Regions from separate parts of the Homo sapiens genome. Here regions 2 and 3 are each linked to region 1. The links are contacts of gene promoters, found by promoter capture Hi-C in blood cells and fetal thymus (Javierre and others, 2016). All regions are on one chromosome and are shown on one strand. The core of a region is centred on a gene start or on the middle of the fragment in contact, and the rest is flanking DNA. Distances in the headings are between cores, read along the strand shown. Region 1 holds the start of KLHL6-AS1 (KLHL6 antisense RNA 1). Region 2 holds the start of EIF4G1 (eukaryotic translation initiation factor 4 gamma 1). Region 3 holds the start of CAMK2N2 (calcium/calmodulin dependent protein kinase II inhibitor 2).

Evidence for each region. The method cuts DNA at HindIII sites, captures the fragments that hold promoters and counts their contacts. A CHiCAGO score of 5 or more calls a contact.
Region 2: a contact is called between the fragment with the promoter of EIF4G1 here and the fragment with the promoter of KLHL6-AS1 in region 1, in 12 of 17 cell types (M0 macrophages, M2 macrophages, megakaryocytes and 9 more). The highest score is 11.0, in M0 macrophages.
Region 3: a contact is called between the fragment with the promoter of CAMK2N2 here and the fragment with the promoter of KLHL6-AS1 in region 1, in 3 of 17 cell types (erythroblasts, fetal thymus and neutrophils). The highest score is 6.3, in erythroblasts.

The regions. Positions count from the first base shown.
Region 1 is chr3:183,547,410-183,550,019 of GRCh38, reverse strand. KLHL6-AS1 (KLHL6 antisense RNA 1) reads right to left here and starts at 1,285. Exons shown (of 2, transcript NR_046687.1): 1 at 1,057-1,285. All of the region lies in intron 1 of KLHL6 (kelch like family member 6), which reads left to right. The HindIII fragment of the contact is 1,687 bases long and covers 1-1,612 here.
Region 2 is chr3:184,313,287-184,315,896 of GRCh38, reverse strand. EIF4G1 (eukaryotic translation initiation factor 4 gamma 1) reads right to left here and starts at 1,291. Exons shown (of 33, transcript NM_198241.3): 1 at 1,223-1,291; 2 at 352-408; 3 at 41-134. The coding sequence starts at 100. RefSeq lists enhancers at 22-643, 1,368-1,868 and silencers at 481-1,190, 1,211-1,540. The HindIII fragment of the contact is 4,143 bases long and covers 180-2,610 here.
Region 3 is chr3:184,260,234-184,262,843 of GRCh38, reverse strand. CAMK2N2 (calcium/calmodulin dependent protein kinase II inhibitor 2) reads left to right here and starts at 1,291. Exons shown (of 2, transcript NM_033259.3): 1 at 1,291-1,727. The coding sequence starts at 1,559. All of the region lies in intron 2 of EEF1AKMT4-ECE2 (EEF1AKMT4-ECE2 readthrough), which reads right to left. RefSeq lists enhancers at 1-199, 2,085-2,610. The HindIII fragment of the contact is 12,942 bases long and covers 1-2,610 here.

The sequences.
Region 1 (2,610 bases), core at 36-2,535:
AAAAAACCACTCTTCTGTTTTTGTTTGTTTTTTACTGTTTGTTTTCACTGTATTTTTCTCTTTGTTTTTGTCTCTTTTATTCTATTTTATGTATGTATTTATTTATTTCCTAGAGACAAGGTCTCCCTATGTTGCCCAGATAGTTTCAAACTCCTGGGCTCAAGGGATCCTCCTGACCCGGCCTCCCAAAGTGCTAGGATTACAAGCATGAGCCACCACACCTGGCCTCTGTCTTTTATTTTAGAGGCTATACTTAAATATCTGGTAGTCTTTGGATATCTGTTCCTATTTAAGAGTCAAGCACTAACATGGTGAAACCCCATCTCTACTAAAAATACAAAAAATTAGCTGGGCGTGGTGGCACATGCCTGTAGTCCCAGCTACTCGGGAGGCTGAAGCAGGAGAATTGCTTGAATCTGGGAGGCGGAGGTTGCAGTGAGCCAAGATCATGCCACTGCACTCCAGCCGGGGCAACAGAGCAAGACTCAGGTGTCCCGACCTGACGAGTGCCATTCAAGTTGGATTTAGCCATGAAATAAGTTACAAAAAACTTTACATTTATCAGCACTTTGGGAATTTTGAAACTACAGATAAGGGATTATAGATATATAATGCTGAAATATTTACTATCATATTGGTTCTGATCCACAATATTGGAAAATATTAAAAGTGGAAAATATAGGGCCTGACCCTGGTGTTACAATCATTGGCTTCACTTGAGTTCTCAAGTGTACCCACTGTGGCAGCAGCAATCCTCAACACATTTGCTGTTAGCCAGATTTTTAATACAGACCTACATGGCCTTAACTCATTCTTGTTTTTCTTGGCACTTATTCTCTTTTTTAAAATTTGTTTAAATTTTACTTTAAGTTCTGGGATACATGTGCAGAATGCGCGGGTTTGTTACATAGGTATACACGTGCCATGGTGGTTTGCTGCACCTATCAACCCATCATCTAGGTTTTAGGCCCTGAATGCATTAAGTATTTTTCCTAATGCTCTCCCTCCCCTTGTCCCCCACCCGCCGACAGGCCACGGGTTGTGTTGTTCCCCTACCTGTGTCCATGTGTTCTCATTGTTCAACTCCCACTTATGAGTGAGAACATGCGGTGTTTGGTTTTCTGTTGCTGTGTTAGTTTGCTGAGAATGATGGTTTCCAGCTTCATCCATGTCCCTGCAAAGGACATGAACTCATTCCTTTTTATGGCTGCACAGTATTCCATGGTGTATATGTTCTTGGCACTTATTCTATCACCTGGGCTTTCTGACTCTTTTCTGACATCTTACCCCATTATGGAGACAAAGCTCAGGATTACAACATCTACATGTGGCTTAAGAGTAGTCTCTTGCCCCACTTTTCTGCCATGCAGTAATTGGTTAATATGTAATAATGATTAACAAGTGCATAGATTGTGCTCACAATAACCTTCCCATTCCTGGCCTTATGCCTGATTTTTGTAGCTGGCGGGTAAAGTCCTCTCAACATAGCCTCAAGGAACCAGACCTAGAGACTGCGGTACAAGACAGGAGTGAGACAGGAATCCAGACAAGGATTCCAGGCAGCAGCATCAACAAAGGAGATTGCTAATGACTCAGCCTCAGCCTGGAAGCTTTTCTATGCATGAAGGAAGGGCCAGTCATGAGACAGGGCAGAGAAAAGCCTGATAACCCCTCCCCTCATCACTAGGACTCCCCTCCCTCTGCCAACCCTGGGAATCACAGCAGGGCTGCCCTCACAGGTCACTGTCACTTACAGAGTGTGCCATATTTTGCAGTGAGCTGGGCTTCCCAAATGGTGAGAACCAGTTTCTGGTTCTAGCCACAGTGAGGTCCCATATATTTTCAGAGCGCACTGTCTTTTCACCTTGCACACCCTGACCCTGCTTCCTTGTCTCTTTTTTAACCCTTTGATCCAGACTGATGTCCTAAGGCATGCTGGGTCCTTGCTGCTATGGGGGTCTGTCAGCTCAGCCCCCAGACATAAACTGGAATGAATGTTCCAACAGTATCCTGCCTGTGCATGTGTGTATGAGCACAAGGAGGCTCTGATTTTTACATTTCCTCCTCATTTTCAGCTTATGTAGCCTACACTAGCAAAAGAGTCTTGGGGAGCTGAGGGGTCATAGGAAATGACCTGTTAGCCACATTTCTGTTCTCTGTGAAGAGGCCTGTTTTCAGTTTAGACATCATGGGGAAACCACTCTTCCCATCAAAGTGAGCTCCCCCAAGGATGAAATGGACACCATGCTATCTACTTGATATTATGAAGACTGAATGAAATAAAAAGAATCCAGCAAAGTGCCTGAAAAAATGTAGGCCGTCCATATTCCAAACTGGGAAAAAATGCTTAATGCAAAGATTACCACGTCACGTATAAAAACAAAATACTGGAAGCAACCTAAATGTCCACAGTGAGAGAATGATTTTCATATTATGCCTCTGTTGAAATTGGTAGCAATATAATAAATAGTCATTATGAAAAGCATGGAGCACCGTAGGAAAAATATTATAATGAAAACAGGGGGCAAAGCAAGATGCAAAATTGCATGTAAACTATGGAAAGATATGCATGTGAGAAAAGGTAGACAAATAACACCAAAATGAAAACTG
Region 2 (2,610 bases), core at 42-2,541, 770 kb before region 1:
TCTCCCCCACCCCCACCCCTGCTAATTCCTCCCTAATTACCTGTGGGAGTCCGGGGGATGGGGCGGGTGGGGGGCCTGTGGACTGTGGAGCTTTGTTCATTTCATTTGGTGCCACATCAGGGTCCCCCCAGCACCTGTTGGGAAAGAGTGGCGCTCAGGAAGAGGAAGGGACCCAAGCTTAAGGCAAATGGGGCGGTGAAAGGGTTGATGCAAGGGCTGGGTCCCATACGGAGTCCCAGAGATGCCAAGAGGGTGAAGCAGAAAAGATACAGCCTGTCCCCACCAACATGCTGTCAAACCCGCATCACTTCCAACCAACCCCTGACCTACTGAAACAGACCCCTCACTCACCCCCTCGATTAAGAACAAGTCCACGGTGCGGCCTACAGGTTCTGGGCATCCGAGGGCCTGGGGTTGGGAGGTGAGGGTATCAACCTGGCTCCGCGGGGCCCCAGACCAACCAGACCGGAAATTCCAGGTCTCGCTGGCACCAGGCTCCCGGATCACGAACGGAGCTAGCTGCTTCGGCCGTGGCGTCCCCACCCCCCACCCGGGGACACCGGGTTCGGGCCTGGCCCAGGGGCACACAGGATACGCCTGCCGCCGGGGAACCCGCACTGGGCCAGAAGCTAGGCCTGCCGCCGCCCAGGAGTGTAGGCCAGGAAGGGCGGGAGTCAGGCCCTAAAAGGCCAGGCGGGCGGCGGCCGTCGAGGAGCCGGTTTCAGGCAAGTGAGGGTCGGCCCGGAGGGCGGGCGGGGCCGGGGGCTCCTCCCTGCCCGCCGCCACCGCCTCCCTCCCCTGCGCCCTCCCTGCGCAGCGCGGGCCAGTGCCAAAGAACAACGTGTCACTTCCCGGCGGCCTGGCCGCGAAGGGGGGAGGGGGCGGCGGGCCGGGAGCCGTGGTGCCTGCGCCCGTGGGCTGCCGGGCCTCCTCGGGTCAGGCCGAGGTGGCATTTCGCGGCGACGAACCCGGCGCCCTACCAGCCCGCGGGGCCCGCATAGTCCGGCCCTGCGCTCCCCACCCCCACCCAGCAGCCAGGCCCGGCCGGGCCAGGCACACGTGGGCCGGGGATCGGGACCCTGGCGGGCCGGGGCCCTGGGTCGGGCCGCGGGGCCAGGGCGCCGGGGCGGCGGCGCAGGGTGGCCGGTCCCGGCCCGGATGGCGGCGGATGCGGGGGGAGGGGGTGGGGGGGCCGGGTCGGGCCCGGACATGGCGGCTTTACCTTCAGTCTCCTTCAGTCCGCGCGGCCGAGCCCCACGCAGCCGCACAGACGTAGTCCACAACCATTTCCGGCTCCCCGCACAGATCCCGCTCGGCGGCCACCGCTTCTCCGCAGGCGCAGCCGGCGCCCCCACGTGACCGGCGCAGGGGGCGGAGCCGCGCCGGGCGATCTGCGCCGCCGAGCACATGGGATTTGCCCCCGCCCCGTCACGTGACAGCCACAGCCCGCCCCCGTGTCCCCTCCCGAACTTTGAAACTCCCAGACCGATTCCCCTCTGTGTTTCTCTCTGTTCCGCGATTCTTTAGTTCATTCATATTTTAAGCAACCATTTATTGAGTGCATGCTAAGTACAAGGCGAAGTGCTGGTTGAGGGCTGAGAAACTGAAATCAAAGTCTCGGCAAAAAAAAAAAAAAAATAAGCGGGGCGCGGTGGCTCACACCTTAATCCCAGTACTTTGGGAGGCCGAGGTGGGCGGATCACGAGGTCAAGAGATCGAGACCATCCTGGCCAACATGGTGAAACCCCGTCTTTACTAAAAATACAAAAATTAGCCGGGCGTGGTGGCGCACCCGTAGTCCCAGCTACTTGGGAGGCTGAGGCAGGAGAATTGTTTGAGCCCGGGAGGCAGAGGTTGCAGTGAGCGGAGATTGTGCCACTGCACTCTAGCCTAGCCTGGCGACAGGGCGAGACTCCATCTCAAAAAAAAAAAAGAAAGAAATTAAAGACTCCGTCCTGCCTAAGTAAATCGTGATACAATACGAATTATGCAGGCTTTGAAAATAATTTAGATTAGGTCATTGAAAGGCCAATAACAAAGGAAATTAAAAGGATAGAAACATTCTAATTAGGCAAGTAGTATGAGATTTGTAGTTTAAAAAGATCATGGGCCGGGCGCAGTGGCTCACGCCTGTAATCCCAGCACTTTGGGAGGCCGAGGCGGGCGGATCACGGGGTCAGGAGATCTAGACCATCCTGGCCAACATGGTGAAACCCCGTCTCTACTAAAATACAAAAAATTAGCTGGGCCTGGTGGCGCACGCCTGTAGTCCTAGCTACTCGGTAGGCAGAGGCAGAGAATTGCTTGAACCCGGGAGGCGGAGGTTGCAGTGAGCCGAAATTACGCCACTGCACTCTAGCCTGGCGACAGGGTGAGACTCCATCTCAAAAAAAAAAAAAAAGAAAGAAAAAAAGAAATTAAAGACTCAGTCCTGCCTAAGTAAATCGTGATACAACACGAATTATGCAGGCTTTGAAAAGAATTTAGATTAGGTCCTTGAAAGGCCTATAACAAAGGAAATTAAAAGGATAGAAACATTCTAACTAGGCAAGTAGTATGAGATTTGTCGTTTAAAAAGTTAGAAACATTCTAACTAGGCAAGTAGTATGA
Region 3 (2,610 bases), core at 42-2,541, 710 kb before region 1:
CGTTCGCCTGGAGTGTGGAATGAACGTACAGGGTGATCATTACCGTTTTCAGCGCTGCCGTCACTGTCGCCGCATGTGAGACACCCCCTCCTCCCCAAGGCCAGTGATTGCGCCAGAGCTCCTGCGCGCTGGCAAGCAGGTGACGCCGCGGGTGACGGCCAGCCAGGGCGGGGGTTGTGGGGGCGGGAGGCAAGGGGAGAAGAGGGCATGTTCCCATCGGTGAGGCGAGAACTCACCCGTGGTCCAAAGCAACGAGGGCGGGGGGCACCCTCCATCTCTACCGCACTCCCTCGGGGCACACACTGGCGCGCTCCGCGTCCTCAGGTGCTCCGAGCTTCCCCGCGTCACCCGCAGCCCAGGGCGCCCCCCGCGACGCCGCCATTCATTCCTCCTACACTGCGAGCGCACCACTCCAGAGCCGCGGGGGGCTACAGCCACCGGACTAGGGCTGGGGGTGTCTGCCCTGGTGCGCGCGCGTCGGCCCAGTTTCTATAGACCCCTCCTAGGAGAGACTGAAATACCCAGATTCAGGAGACGGAGACACTGGCACAGAGATACAGGAGTCAAGAATGGAGATAGATAGAGAAAGGCAGACACTTAAGGGACAGGCATAGACAAAGGCCATAACACAGCGAAAGAGATACGGGGCACAGAGACAGAGAGATACAGACACTTAGAGATGGACTGACACACACAAAGGCGGAGACAGAGACACAGACCGGCACTCAGAGGCGCACGGACCCTGACGATCTACTTAAGACCAGCAGAGCAACTAGTACAAGAGCGCGTCAGCGGCAAGGGCACCATCCCACTGGCCCGAGCTCTTCCCGCGCTGTGGGTTCGTGCCTTCCCCAGTCACCCTGTACCCGAGTCTCCTCCCCGCGCATTTCCCGCTCCCCGCTTTCCATTGCCAGCCCTGCGGCCGCCTTCCCGCCCCAACGCGCCCGGCCAGCTTTTGCCCTCCTGCTCCCAGTCCCCCTTGCACGCCTCTCCCAGCCTAGGGGTCAGACCCTCCTCCAAGCTCCTCCAGTACCAGGCTCGATCCCACCCCCCTTCGGTCCCGCCCCTCCCCGCGAGGTCCCGGCCGGGTTGGCTGGTACTATTCCCCAAGACCCACGTGCTGGCCATTCCCCGCCACAGTGCGGGAACCTCCCACTCCAGCTGCCTCTGTTCCCGGGGTAGCTGGGCGCGCTCCTGCCCCCGGCCCCGCCTCTTTCCCCTGGCCAGTGCCCGCCCCGCCTCCACCGCGCCCCGCCCGCCGTGCTCTGCCGCAGTCGGGCGCTCATCGTCATTCCGCTCTTGCCGCCGCCGCCGCCACCCCCGCCCCCCGCCCCCGCCCCCGCCCGGTCCCCGCCACCGCCGCCGCCGCCGCCTGCCCAGCGGCCCGGGAGGCGGAGGCGCGGGGGAGGAGGCCCCGCTTGGCTCCTCAGCCCCGGATGCTGCATGACTTCATCCTTCCGCCGGCTCCCCTGCTGAGGTAGGGCCGGTCCGGCAGCAAGCCCGCCGCCCGCGCCCCGCCGCAGTCCCGCTCCCGCCCCGCGCCCACCCCGCGCCCGCCATGTCCGAGATCCTGCCCTACAGCGAAGACAAGATGGGCCGCTTCGGCGCAGACCCCGAGGGCTCCGACCTCTCCTTCAGCTGCCGCCTGCAGGACACCAACTCCTTCTTCGCGGGCAACCAGGCCAAGCGACCCCCCAAGCTGGGCCAGATCGGCCGAGCCAAGCGAGGTACGCGGCCCGGGCCCGGAGTCGCCGCCTGACCCAGAAACCCTCCGCCGGGCGCCCCCCGGCTGCCGTTCCCCGCCGAGTGCCCGCAGCTCTTGCCGCAGACCAGCGCACCAGCCGCTCTCCAGCCCGGGCTGGAGGGGGGGGTCCCCGCTGCAGTGTGTGTCCCCCTCTTCCCTTCTCCCGGGAACACGGTGCCCCGGATTCGATGCTCGCCACCTCTGGAAGCAGAGCCCTGGCACCCGGGCGAGGGGGAGGGGCCGGTCGGGGCATTTGGGGCTGCACGGAAGTGGGAGCACGGGGTAACGGGCTGATTCTTTGGGATCAAATACTGAGTCGGTGGACAATACGAAGAACCTTCGGGTCGAGAGGGACGTCTAACAAGAGAGGGCAGGAGGCCGGGGGTCCGCTTGTCTTGGTTGTTTGCATGGGGAGGGGAGCTCTGTTGGTGCCAGGATCGGAAGAGGGGTTCCAGCGGCGAGAGGGCTCAGGTTGAGGAGAGGGCTGGACCAGCTGGATACTCGGTTTGAGCCCCATTTGAGCAGGGGGATCTGTTGAAGTGCGGGTTGAAGAGGGGGATTCCGTGAGCAAGAGGTTTCTGATCAACTCAGAGGGAGGAAGGCTCAGGTGGCAGGAGGGCTCGCACTGGGAGGGAGAATAGCTGGAGCCTTTGGAAGAGGGGCGTTCCGCCATCGGGAGGGGAGGGGGTCTAGGCTTGGCGGCGGGTTGGGTCTCCAGAAGAGTTCGGACGGGGAGGACACCGCGGCACAGGGTTCCGAGGGGCGTCGCTGGGCCACGGGCAGTAGCTGCGCGGGAAGCTAGGACGCGGGGCTCATTCTCATCGCCGCCGCCCCCCGAGGCCGCGCGGCTGACGCGCTTTCTCCCT